2 separate regions of the Homo sapiens genome follow, and region 1 is linked to region 2. The links are contacts of gene promoters, found by promoter capture Hi-C in human tissues and cell types (Jung and others, 2019). All regions are on one chromosome and are shown on one strand. The core of a region is centred on a gene start or on the middle of the fragment in contact, and the rest is flanking DNA. Distances in the headings are between cores, read along the strand shown.

What was found. The method cuts DNA at HindIII sites, captures the fragments that hold promoters and counts their contacts. A contact is called where the count stands out against the background at its distance.
Region 1: a fragment that was not itself captured here is called in contact with the fragment with the promoter of ETS2 in region 2 in 1 of the 25 tissues and cell types used here (dorsolateral prefrontal cortex).

Annotation. Positions count from the first base shown.
Region 1 is chr21:38,528,947-38,531,646 of GRCh38, forward strand. The region is part of intron 1 of LOC105372802 (a long non-coding RNA gene); the gene reads left to right. It also overlaps a transcript of ERG not described here. Among named protein-coding and RNA genes, the nearest start is that of ERG, 32 kb to the left of the region's middle. The HindIII fragment of the contact is 4,107 bases long and covers 1-2,700 here.
Region 2 is chr21:38,804,658-38,807,357 of GRCh38, forward strand. ETS2 (ETS proto-oncogene 2, transcription factor) reads left to right here and starts at 1,272. Exons shown (of 10, transcript NM_005239.6): 1 at 1,272-1,463. RefSeq lists enhancers at 71-571, 105-244, 425-484, 495-654 and silencers at 765-1,094, 1,115-1,184, 1,375-1,664, 1,775-1,874, 1,895-1,994. The HindIII fragment of the contact is 2,481 bases long and covers 185-2,665 here.

The DNA of each region.
Region 1 (2,700 bases), core at 148-2,647, 280 kb before region 2:
TCAGGTAGAAATTAAATGAGGATGTCATTGTCAACCTTTTAAATTATATTACAGGAGCAGGGAGCACACGGGCCCTGAGGTAGAAATGAATAAGGAATATTCTAGAACCACCAAGAAGCCAGTGTGGCCACAGCAGAGTGAGCCAGTGGTGCTGGAGGCAGGTGAGATCTTGAAGGGCCTTGGCAACATGAACAGGAGCTTGGATTTTATCCACATTGCCGAGGGAAGTATGAGGTGGTGTTTAGCAGGGCATAAATCTCATCTGATCTGTACTTTGAGGAAAACACTCTGACTTCTGTGTGGAGAACAGTCTATAGGAAGCCAAGAGGAGAGGCAGGGAGATGAGGGAGGGGTGACTTCAGTCTCCAGGAGAATGAGCTAGTGATGTGAATTAAGGTGCTGGTGGTGGAGGAAGTGAGGTGGAGAACTGGACACTGGGATCTATTTTGAAGAGGGAGCCTACAGAACTTGTTGGTGGATGGCTATGAGGGAAAGAGGATTAAAGAATGATGCTAGGCATTTGGGCTTAAACAAACCCCTGAGTAAATGGTTATCCTATTATTAATACTAAGATGGGTAATGCTAGGGAAGGAGTAGCCTTGGGGAGCAGTGATGAGTTATTTTCTTAGAGAGAAGCCACGTTACCTATAGGAGGCTCAACAGAGTATCAAATTAGAATAAAATATCTAATGTTCTGATTTGTGTCTTTATTTTTTCCATTAAGATACACATGGCTGGCCAGGCGCGGTGGCTCATGCCTGTAATCCCAGCACTTTGGGAGGCTGAGGCAGGCCGATCACCTGAGGTCAGGAGTTTGAGACCAGCCTGGCCAACGTGGTGTTACCCCGTCTGTATTAAAAATACAAAATATTAGCCAGGCATGGTGGTGGGCACCTGTAGTTCCAGCTACTCAGGAGGCTGAGGTAGGAGAATCACTTGAACCCAGGAGGCAGAAGTTGCAGTGAACCGAGATCACGCCATTGCACTCCAGCCTGGGTGACAAGAGCGAAACTCCGTCTCAAAAATAAAAATAAACAAAAACCATGGGAAAGAACAATTGAGGAAACTGGGGACTTGTCCTGGAACAGAAGACACGAGGACTTTTGGTTTTTTAGTTTTGTTTTTGTTTTTGAGACAGAGTCTTGCTCTGTTGCCTGAGCTGGAGTGCAATGGTGCGAACTCAGCTCACTGCAACCTCCGCCTCCTGTATTCAAGTGATTCTCCCACCTTTGCCTCCTGAGTAGCTGAGACTATAGGCGCACACCACCATGCCCAGCTAATTTTTGCATTTTTAGTAGAGAGAGGGTTTCATCGTGTTGGCCAGGCTGTCCTCAAACTCCTGACCTCAAGTGATCCACCCGCCTCGGCCTCCCAAAGTGCCGGGATTGCAGAAGTGAGCCACTGCGTCCAGCAAGAATGAGGTTTGAAGGGAGGCATGATTGTGTTCTCTTCAAATAGTTGAAAGGTTCCATTTGAAAAAGGGATTTACTTATTCCTATGGTTCTAGTAAGTTGCAGAGGGTGGATCTAAGACCATTGGGTGAACTTTACAGAGAGGCCAGAAAGCCTTCTCCAGGGGAAGAAAGTCAAGAAAAGGTCTCAAAACTGTCTGGCAGAATTCTGCACAGGAGAGTCCTCAATTCGGTGTAGAATTGGCAAGTATAATAACTGTAAATCCCTCTCAATCTACCATCTACATCATTAGGCGACATCTTCATTTCCTGAAAATTCCAACACATGAAGGCTCACTTACTATCAAGATGAGCAAGTTTGTGCTACATAGTGAATTTGATTTCAATAGGACTCATTTTATACCTTTTAAGAGTCTTTAAAACGTTGAAAATGTAAAGATCTGCAAGAGCAACTGATCTTCAAAGTCCCGTCGAGTCACAGGATTTTGTAATGATGTCTAAAGAGGAAAATTCCCATTTCAGAAAAGGCTCAATAGTATTTAATAGTTAGCTCAAAAGGACGAATAAAGTTCTACATGGGAAGCTGCTGAACTACAGTCAGGCCAAACCTTCATACTCGGAGAAGATGACTGGGCCTGTAGACACAGATATTGATGATAAATCATCACAAACCACAGCTTTCCTTAATTGGGGTGGTGGGCAGGGAGAGCAGGCTTCAGGTTGGCCTTCCTCCAGCAAGGGCACACACACAAAGGGGACCTGAACACGTGGAGCTTATGGTCAGGAAGCCTGAAGTGCCTGACCCAGCACATCTGGTGACTAGTAGTGTAGATTCCCCACAGAAGGAATGACAAGGCGTCATTATTCAAAGTGACCTTCCCTCCATTGGAATAATCAGAAACAGCTCACAAATAAAGTAATCTGTAAGATGCTTCATCTTCTCTAGGTAACCTCTCCCCAACATGATGACATCACTTCACATGAGGCGACATGGTTTTGTGAGGACTTTTCTTTCCTTCCAAGTTTGGAATCTGGCTGAAGGCTAAAATCACCATTTACAGTGTTTGAGCCCTCCTTCACACTTTGAAGAAGGGTCTGTGTAAATAGCCATTCCTACTTCTCAGACTCGCCAGAGGCAAAACCTGTTTTGCTTTGGTAGTACACGCTCTTCCTTAACTGGTAAAAGACTTTAAAAAAAAATAAGATGCCATTTTTAATTGTTTCATAAATCTGGCTTAGATATATTAAGGAAATTGCTATTTTATATGTAGAACAGCGGCAAGCAAATC
Region 2 (2,700 bases), core at 22-2,521:
AACATTAAGGTGCACCGATATCTCAATTATCCGGATAACTCTAGACCTAGAGTCACCATGGAAACCTAGAACCCTGAGTCACAGAGAAGCTGGGCCATTCCTCTCCCTTCCCGGTGGTGCCGCAGTTCTTGAGATGTGAGCAGCTTTCAGCCCCGTGGCCTCGCCTAAGCTGGGGTTTCCTATTTCATCCACAACTTCAGGAATCTAAACTTTCCTGCAAAATATTGAGCATGTGACCTGAGTCCAAACAGCCATGGACTCAAGCACCTTCTGATAAAAACGGAAACCACAGTGTAGGGGGTGGTTTTGACCAGGGTTTCGGAGTCAGATAAACTCAGGTTTCCACCTTGAATTTCTCATCAATCTGACGTGGCAGGTTATTCATCCTAAGGTTCAGTTCCCACCTGTGTAAAGTGGGAGCCGCAAGTCCTCCGAGAGTGACGATGATGTGCGTGGAGTGCCCAGCCCAGATTGAAGCGCGGCCAAGGCGGGTCGCTATCTGGGCACCGCTCAGCTCCAGAGGGCGCCACTCCCGCGGAGCCTGCGGGATCGGGGCTTCCCGGGAGCAGCGCGATCAGCACCACGACTCGGGGACACAGCCAGGGCCCGGTTTCTACAGGAAGCGCCTCATTTGGAGCCTTTTTGTGATAGAATGATCATTAGTCCTAAGCCCATTCAGAGGTTCAAGAATGGGGTCGGCTCAATTTCAGGGCCTTATTACCCAAGCCCGGCTGCCCTTCGGTGCCACCAGCACCACTGCTCCGTCGCTGCGGAATTCCAAAGGCAGGTTTGGCGTTAGGGCCTTGGCCCCAGAGAGGACGCCGAGCGCTCCACGGAAAGTCTCCGCCCGGCTCCCAGGGCGCACACTCGCGCGCACGTGGGGCCGAGGCCCTGCTCCCGGGGCCTCAGGGCCAGCCGGCGAGGGACCCAGCCGAGTGACAGCAGGAGGCGGAGGGAAGGTTGGGCCGGAAGGTGTCAGCCCCGCCCCGCGCTCCCTCGCCGCCTCCGCCCTCCTCTTCTCTCCCCTCGTGCGTTCCCTCTCCTCTCCCTCCGCTCCCCCAACCCTCCTGCTGCCCCCTTCCCTCTCCTCCCGCTTCTCCCCATCCTGCCTACCTCCCTTCCCCTCCTCTTCTCTCTCCTCCCCTTCCCTCCCCTCTCTCTTCTCTCCTCCCTCGTTTCCTCCCCTCCCCTCCACTCGGCCGTCCCTCCTTCCTCCTCCCTCCTCCCTCCTCCTCCCGCTCCTGAAGAGCGCGCCGCGTGGGGGACGGCCCGGTTACTTCCTCCAGAGACTGACGAGTGCGGTGTCGCTCCAGCTCAGAGCTCCCGGAGCCGCCCGGCCAGCGTCCGGCCTCCCTGATCGTCTCTGGCCGGCGCCCTCGCCCTCGCCCGGCGCGCACCGAGCAGCCGCGGGCGCCGAGCAGCCACCGTCCCGACCAAGCGCCGGCCCTGCCCGCAGCGGCAGGGTAAGAGCTGGGCCCGCAGAGAGCGCCCGGCGCGCGGCTCCAGTCCCATGGAGGGTCACCCGGGGCCTGGGCGGGGGTCGCGGGGGGCACTGACACGCAGATCTCGGGGCGCTGCCGGGGGTGCAGGTGGGGGTGGCGGCTGCTGCGAGGACTCTAGGGGCGCGCGTCTGAGTTCCGCGCCGGCTCGTTTTCCGGTTATGGAGTGGCCTCCGGGGCTGGCGGGGTCGGCCGGGGGGTTCCTGCGTGCTAGGGCCGCTGTCTTCGGGGTCGCCTAGCGGCGGGCGCGGCCAGGGCGCGCTGGCTTGTTTCGCTCGCTTTTGTTTTTAAAAGGAAACGCAGGCCTGGTAGGGGGTCCTGCCCAGTGGATGTCCCGGCGAACATGATTTCGCGAACGGGAGTGGGGGCACAGGAGAGCGTGTCCGAGGTGGCCTGGCGCCCCGGCTTTGAGGGTGACTTCCTGGAGCGGCGCCGGGCCCGGAGGATCTGGGGCGCCCAAGACACCTGAAGGCTGCGGCACCGCGGGAACCTGCGGGGCGCGGGGTGCCATGGTCACCTGCTCGCCGCGTCCAGGGCCCGGGCTGGGGACCCCTCGGTCGTGCGAGGAGAGCGTGGGGAACCTGTCGGAAATGAGATCTGGTTGCGCTGGGCTGCCTTTATTTTCTCGTTCCTACAGCATTTGAATGAAGAGGTAACTGAGTGTTTGCTTGTGTGTGTTTGGGTTGCGTGTGTGTTATCCTATTTTATTTTTTACGGCAGGAGACCTTTTATGTTAGCCTGTACACAATTTCAGGGTAGCCTAAAACAGTAGTTGACGCGCTAGTTATTTAGAAAGTAAAGAAATGAGCAGTCCCCTTTGGAGACAGGAGTAATTTATTTTAATTCGCCAGTAAGAGATTATATTTGTTCCATACAATGGAAGCGCCTGTGCGTTATCTGCCTGCCCACACCACCACCAATCAGAGAGATAAATCTCCACGTTAAGCTTTATTAAAATTCTGAGTAGTAGCGCAGCACAGTAAATGTTAGCACCGACCATCCGCAGGGAAATGCTCAGATACTCATTTCTGGGATTAGTCATTCATCTCTCTAAACTGATCGCTTTCAAAGCGAAAAAAGCAAACTACCTTCAAATGTGTGTTACAAGGTTGTGTTGTTTCTTTTTTTTGTTTGTTTTCAAATTTATCTAAATAATCTTACATAAGTGATTACTTGTTCCAATAAGGGTACTGTTGTCAGG